Linked DNA regions of Homo sapiens: region 1 is linked to region 2. Evidence: promoter capture Hi-C in human tissues and cell types (Jung and others, 2019). All regions are on one chromosome and are shown on one strand. The core of a region is centred on a gene start or on the middle of the fragment in contact, and the rest is flanking DNA. Distances in the headings are between cores, read along the strand shown. Region 1 holds the start of CD248 (CD248 molecule). Region 2 holds the start of CFL1 (cofilin 1).

The links. The method cuts DNA at HindIII sites, captures the fragments that hold promoters and counts their contacts. A contact is called where the count stands out against the background at its distance.
Region 1: the fragment with the promoter of CD248 here is called in contact with the fragment with the promoter of CFL1 in region 2 in 1 of the 25 tissues and cell types used here (spleen).

Annotation. Positions count from the first base shown.
Region 1 is chr11:66,315,756-66,319,752 of GRCh38, reverse strand. It overlaps CD248 (CD248 molecule), which reads left to right and starts at 2,709. Exons shown (of 1, transcript NM_020404.3): 1 at 2,709-3,997. The coding sequence starts at 2,726. RefSeq lists enhancers at 1-205, 206-707, 3,264-3,960 and a silencer at 2,511-2,780. The HindIII fragment of the contact is 8,045 bases long and covers 1-3,997 here.
Region 2 is chr11:65,856,930-65,860,237 of GRCh38, reverse strand. CFL1 (cofilin 1) reads left to right here and starts at 2,058. Exons shown (of 4, transcript NM_005507.3): 1 at 2,058-2,141. The coding sequence starts at 2,139. It also overlaps a transcript of MUS81 not described here. RefSeq lists enhancers at 63-152, 853-942, 1,503-1,572, 1,963-2,012, 1,946-2,486 and 1 more and silencers at 603-682, 2,093-2,492. The HindIII fragment of the contact is 15,299 bases long and covers 1-3,308 here.

The DNA of each region.
Region 1 (3,997 bases), core at 1,460-3,959, 460 kb before region 2:
CAGCCTTCCAGTGTGGGCGTTATGGCCATCATGAACATGTCACAGTGCTGCAGAGATTTTGTTTATGGCCAGTTTTGGGGCCAGTTTATGGCCAAATTTTGGGGGGCTTGTTCCCAACATCTTTCCTTCTTTTCTTTTTCTCTCCCGCTCGCCTCTCCCCTCCCCTCCCCTCCTCTCCTCTCCTCTTTTCTTTTCCACAGTCTTGCTCTGTCGCCCAGGCTGGAGTGTGCAGTGGCGCAATCTTGGCTCACTGCAACCTCCACCTCCCAGGTTCAAATGATTCTCCTGCCTCAGCCTCCCGAGTAGCTGGGATTACAGGTGCACCACCACGTCCAACTAATTTCACAAGTAAATATATTTAATGTCAGATAGTGATAAGTGCAGAGCGAGAAAATGCAGGAAGATCCAGTGGTCAAGGAGCCCCAGGGGGCGGTGTGGGGTGGGGTGAGATGGTCAAGGACTCTGGTACTTGAGCTGAGCCCTGGAGAAGGTAAAGAAGCAGAGCATTTTTATATTGGAGGAAGAGCATTCCAGGCAGCAGGAACAGCCAAGACCAAGGCTGTGAGGCAGAGTGTCTGGAGCATTTAAGGAACAGCAATGAGGCCAGAGTTTGGAGGCAGATGACATAGACCAGGAGGCCATGGCAAGGACTGTGGCCCTTCCTCTAAGCGAGATGGGGGGCTCAGAGGGTTCTGAATGGAGAAGTGATCAGATCTGACTTGGATTTTGAAAGGATCCCTCTGGCAGGATGGAGAGGGCAAGAGAGACACCACGGGAGAGGCTGTTGGGGAAATCTAGATTGGCGTTGCTAGCCACCTGGGCCGGGGGTGGGTGGCAAAGAAGGTGTCCAGGAGTGGTCAGATTCTGGATCTCTTTTGAAAGTGAAGCCAACAGGATTTGCTGAGAGACTGGATGTGGGCTGTGGGAGAAAGAGAGGAGTCAAGCATGACCTCAAGGTTTGGGGCCTGAGCCAACAGAAGGATGAACTCCTCCATCTTGACTTTTGTCTCCTGAGAAGGGGAGTCATTCTGTGTGCTTCACATGTATAGACCTTGTAAGAAGGAACTTCCAGGCATATGGCAAGAACTTCCTAAGCCCTGGTTCTCGAGGGGCTGGCTGGGTCTGCAGGGCCAGCCTAGGCACTGTAAGGTGGTTTGCAAAAACGCACCCTGGTCTCCACCCACCACATATGCTCAGAAGACAGGAACATTTGCTTCAGGCTCCACAGCTGACAAAGCACATTTGCAAACACTGAGCGCTGTGACGCAATATCTCAGCCCTGCTGAGCTAAAAATCCTGGACTCATTGCCCTCATGTTGCAACTGAGAAAAAAGGAGACCCAGAGAGGGCCAGTGACTCCCCTGCAGTCACAAAGTCGATCCATCTGTGGCAGAGGGGGAAGCTGCATCAGGGCAGTTTACTGAAGGGCGGAACCTCTCCCCCACCTCCCCACACTGTTTCTAACTTCTGCTAAGAGTGCAGCGGGTGTGCATGGGTTAATCCGCCAGCCAGCTCCCCAGAGGCCATCCTGGATGATGGGCTCAGTGCACATGCCTCCAGAGGCCTCCAGGAAGGGCGGGAAGAGGACCCTGGCCAGGCCGAAACAGCAGGCCCCGGGGGCAGGGAGGGCTCCACACACGTGATGCCTGTGTCACATATACACATATATGTCACTGTGTGCCCCATGCCCATACATGGCCTTGCATGGGTCCCCTCACAGCCTTCCACATCCTGCGTGCAGCCCAGCCCCCACCCAGCCCCCTAAACCACGCACCCTGCCTTCCTGACGCAGGAGCCCAGAGAGGCATTTCCTGTTTAGGGGCTGCCTCCTCCCCCTCTAAGCCCAGGTTCCCAGGGCCCCAGGCTGAGCTGGGGTGAGGGGAGGGCAGCCCCTGGCCCCCTCACTCCCCCAACACCCCCACACGCTGGCCCAGCTGGAACCAGAAAGCTTGAGTATAGGGGGAGAGGCTGACGCAGGGGCTCAGTAAATAAATGAGAGGCTGAGGATGCCTGTGCCTGGGTGACCAAGCTGTTTCCATTCAGGCCGAATCGGAGGTCTTCATATGTCAGGCCATGTAGAATGCCACACCATTTTTGTATGTGCACCTAGGGTCTCAGCATGTCAGAATGTGTGTACGTGTGGCAAGGGAGTCATCTGCAAGCCAGCATAGGTCCACGGTGAGGTGAAGGGACAAACAGCTTGGCAGAGAGTGCACTCTTGCATGGGGTTGGGGGTGGGGGAGGCGCATGCGCGCGTCTGTGGGGCAAGAAAGGAGTGGGCATGAGGGTGTTCCCGTGCATGGCGAGCAGCTGGGCTGAGACTGCTCCCGGGTGTGATGGGGCTGCTGTGTCCAGATTTGGGTCTCTGAGTCTCTGGGAAGCGACCTCACCCCACAGCCCCGAGCCCCAACTTGAGGGTCACAGAGCTCGGCAGGCAGGCTTTTCCCACCCCCTGACTCTCAGCCCCATGGGGCCTGGGGCAGCCGTCAACTGCGCCTTCTCCCCTCCTCCGCCCCCAACCTTAGAGCCCCCCACCCCACTGCTTCCTGCTCTAGCGGCCCCCGGGGAAGAGGGAGCAGGGAGCTGGCAGCCGCCCCAGCCCACTCCTTACAAGGCCTGAGCCCGGCCCCAGGCCCGCCCCCGGCCCGCCCGCAGGAGGCCCCAGGCCCTCCCCCTGTCAAGAGCTGCCGCCAGCCCGGGGCCGGACCAGTCCGGGGGCATCGCGATGCTGCTGCGCCTGTTGCTGGCCTGGGCGGCCGCAGGGCCCACACTGGGCCAGGACCCCTGGGCTGCTGAGCCCCGTGCCGCCTGCGGCCCCAGCAGCTGCTACGCTCTCTTCCCACGGCGCCGCACCTTCCTGGAGGCCTGGCGGGCCTGCCGCGAGCTGGGGGGCGACCTGGCCACTCCTCGGACCCCCGAGGAGGCCCAGCGTGTGGACAGCCTGGTGGGTGCGGGCCCAGCCAGCCGGCTGCTGTGGATCGGGCTGCAGCGGCAGGCCCGGCAATGCCAGCTGCAGCGCCCACTGCGCGGCTTCACGTGGACCACAGGGGACCAGGACACGGCTTTCACCAACTGGGCCCAGCCAGCCTCTGGAGGCCCCTGCCCGGCCCAGCGCTGTGTGGCCCTGGAGGCAAGTGGCGAGCACCGCTGGCTGGAGGGCTCGTGCACGCTGGCTGTCGACGGCTACCTGTGCCAGTTTGGCTTCGAGGGCGCCTGCCCGGCGCTGCAAGATGAGGCGGGCCAGGCCGGCCCAGCCGTGTATACCACGCCCTTCCACCTGGTCTCCACAGAGTTTGAGTGGCTGCCCTTCGGCTCTGTGGCCGCTGTGCAGTGCCAGGCTGGCAGGGGAGCCTCTCTGCTCTGCGTGAAGCAGCCTGAGGGAGGTGTGGGCTGGTCACGGGCTGGGCCCCTGTGCCTGGGGACTGGCTGCAGCCCTGACAACGGGGGCTGCGAACACGAATGTGTGGAGGAGGTGGATGGTCACGTGTCCTGCCGCTGCACTGAGGGCTTCCGGCTGGCAGCAGACGGGCGCAGTTGCGAGGACCCCTGTGCCCAGGCTCCGTGCGAGCAGCAGTGTGAGCCCGGTGGGCCACAAGGCTACAGCTGCCACTGTCGCCTGGGTTTCCGGCCAGCGGAGGATGATCCGCACCGCTGTGTGGACACAGATGAGTGCCAGATTGCCGGTGTGTGCCAGCAGATGTGTGTCAACTACGTTGGTGGCTTCGAGTGTTATTGTAGCGAGGGACATGAGCTGGAGGCTGATGGCATCAGCTGCAGCCCTGCAGGGGCCATGGGTGCCCAGGCTTCCCAGGACCTCGGAGATGAGTTGCTGGATGACGGGGAGGATGAGGAAGATGAAGACGAGGCCTGGAAGGCCTTCAACGGTGGCTGGACGGAGATGCCTGGGATCCTGTGGATGGAGCCTACGCAGCCGCCTGACTTTGCCCTGGCCTATAGACCGAGCTTCCCAGAGGACAGAGAGCCACAGATACCCTAC
Region 2 (3,308 bases), core at 809-3,308:
GGAGAGGCGGGGGCTAGGAGACAAACGGGTGCAAACGTATTGGTGGGAGGGACACCCAGAAATGGGTGCCGGGGATGAGGACACAAAGGTAAGGCAGGAGGAGCTGCAGGACCCTTGGAGGAAATGGTGATCCTCATCCCCGGGATACAGGGCAAAGAGTGTGTGGTGGAGAGGAAGTCGGGGACGTGCCGAGAAGGCCCAAAATAGAACTCGGAATGTCGGGGGTCAGAGGCCTAGAGGAAGGAGGACTGTAAGTAAGAGGTGCTTGGGCATCCTGGCAGTTGGGGAGGCCTGAGATGGGCACGCGGTTGGGTTTGGGAGCGGAGGAGCAGGCTGCGGGTTAAGAAGCCCAGACACAGGTAGAGGGGAGAACACTTCGTCATTTTTGTGGCTAATCGGAAGTGGGAGACCCTCAGGGAGGTTGAAGATGGAAACCCTACAAAGGGCTTCAACCTGAGAAGCCTGAAAGACACGTATAGCTGAGTTGGACACAGGCGACCCGCCAGGGTTTGAAGCAGCACCCGGCCTCTAGCTGCTATGCCGGAAGTCGCAACACGCAGGTCTCCAGCCTGCGAGGAAGGGAGAGGTGGGCGCCAGAGCTCCAGTCCCGCCCCTCAGGACTGTGCCTAGCCCACGGCGCAGTAGCCCCAGCCAAGCTAAATTGGACCAATGGGCTCCGGCTCCCGCCTCCCGCCCGCCGCGGCCTTATAAGGAGCCTCAAGCCGGCTGTCGGGCTGGCCCCGCCCCCTCGAGTCTCTTGTCCTAATAAGGACATCTAGGGCATCCCGCGGCTGGGGGCGGGCGAGAGCGCGTCTCCAGGGTAACTGCGAAGCCCCCCTCTCTCTCCCCGTTGCTCTTGGAAACTCTAAGGCTCAGAAAAGGGGGCGCTAGCCTCATATTCATGTAGGGTCGCTCGCGGGAGGCGGGGTCAAGCTGCTGTCTCCACCTGGAGCGCCGGGAGTCCGGGCGGGGGCGGTGCTGTGGAATGTCCCCGACTACAACCCCCGGTATGCTCTGCAAGGTACCCCACTCCCAGGCATCGCTCTCCGTTTACACCCTTAATTCCGTTTATAGGATTAGGGCCCCCAGTTCCCTTTCTGGGTTTGCCTCTGACTTGTTTGCGACCCAGTCTTTTCCTGCAGAGTGTGAGGCTGTGGTCACTGTTCTAGAACAACAAAATCATCCCGGAGTCCCCCGCTCGTTTCTTTTTTTTTTTAAGGCATATACTACCACAGAACTTGTCTCAGTTTTGCGGATGTTAGAATAACCATGTACCTGGCTATCAACTCGAGAGCTGGGTTCAAGTCTGGTTTAATATCTATTTCTTCTCATTGGCACGTAAAGGCATGTAAAGAAGCCTTGAATTGAATGCACAAACCCTCGTCTTTACCCTTTAACGCCTCATGACTTTGCCAAACATCTTTAAACAAGAACAAAGCTCTCAGAGATTTCCTTGTACCTTTCCCCTGTGCCTTTTCCTCCTATTCTTGTTTTACTGACGTTGGACATGGCCTTTTTTCAGGAGACGAGAGTGGCTTTACACATGCAGAGTACTAGTGTTTATCCGACTGACGACGCCTTCATACTTGTGATTTCCTTTGCTTTAGGTCGGGATTCCAGGCTAATCAATAGTTGCTTCGATTCAGAAATGCAAAACCCTAACCTCACTCAAAAATTTCAGGCCAAGGGATCCAGATAATACCAGATGGGTCTTAAGAAAGCCGTTTTGCTGTGGGATAAAGAGCCGCTTAGTCGGGGATCGTTTTCGGGTCATTTTACTGAGCGCCGCCTCGCCGGGCTCAGAGCGGTTCCTGGGAAATTGGACCAATGGGCTCGCGCTGCGCGCTGCGGTGCCGCCCAGGACCTGGGCCTACATTTCCCTACATGCACTGCAGCTCGGAGCCGGCCGGCGGGAAGACTCCGTTACCCAGCGAGCGAGGCGGCGGCGCAGGGCCAGCGGACTCCATTTCCCGTCGGCTCGCGGTGGGAGCGCCGGAAGCCCGCCCCACCCCTCATTGTGCGGCTCCTACTAAACGGAAGGGGCCGGGAGAGGCCGCGTTCAGTCGGGTCCCGGCAGCGGCTGCAGCGCTCTCGTCTTCTGCGGCTCTCGGTGCCCTCTCCTTTTCGTTTCCGGAAACATGGTGAGCGGCAGGCCACGGCGCCTGAGGGAGGCGGCTGCGGGTCGGTCGCCTGCGCGCGGGAAGCGACTGGGGAGCGACGTCCGCACCCCCTCCCCCAGCGCCCCGGGCGGGATGAGGGTCTCGCACGAAGGGGCGGGCGGTGCCGGAATGCGCGTGCGCGCCCGTGGGCGCCGGGGAGGGCCGGTCTGGACGTCGCTCGCGCTCCGCCTGGGCTCCCCTCCCCCACCCGCTGGTGCGCCCGCGCGGACACCGGCCGCGGGGGGAGGGGTTCGGGGCGCGCGCTGGGGCGCCCCTCGCGGAACGGCCGGCGTCGCGCCTTTCTTCTTAGGGGCGCGCTCTCGACTGGAGCATGCGGCGTCCAAACCCGGCCCGGGGGCGGCGAGGAAAAAGCGCGCGAGAGGTCTCGGCGCGCGCGCCCCACCCAAGGCTGTTCCTGTCTGCGCGTCACCCTCCCTCGGCAGCCGGGTCCGTCTCGGGAGCAGGTGGCAGGGATGCCTGCGCCCGGGAGGGGCGGGTGCTGGCGCGGCGAGGGGTGATGCTGGGAAGACGGGGTCCCGGTTGGGGCGTGGGTGCCTGCGATTAAGGCCTTGCACCGCAAGGCTTGGAGGGGGCATCGCAGAGACCGCGGCCCGTTCGGGAGCGCATCTAACGAGCTGCGTTCTCACCCGTGCATCGGGCGAGGGCTGGAACGGCGCTGTCTGTCGGCGCGTGCGCGCACGCTCAGGCCCGGCCGCCGGTGCCGAAGCCCTGGGCCAGCGAGGCCTTCCCGGATGGGCCTGAGTGAGGGTGGAGCCGAGTTTAGGGAAGTGACCCAGGCGGGCACCGCCCGGAAACCACCCCGCCCCCTGTATACGGCCCGAGGGCTGAGAAAACCGAAGGTTATGTAGCTTGCCCAGGCTCCTGCCTGCAGGAGATGGGTCTGATACACCCGTTGTTTTAGGGCGATTCCACAGGGTTAGGGACCTGGAGATGCTGCTGCCTCTCGGATACGCGTTTCTGCATTGGTGAGGGGGCCGGGCCCAGCCGATCTCCTGTCCCCGCCCACTCCGGATGCGGCCGAGTCACGTGGCCGGCTTCTTCTGCAGTTCCGGGGAGTTTGGGGGACCAGATTTACCTTGGATTGCCCCTCCCTCTCCTGGCTCGGGCACCCCGAAGCACGACGCAGAG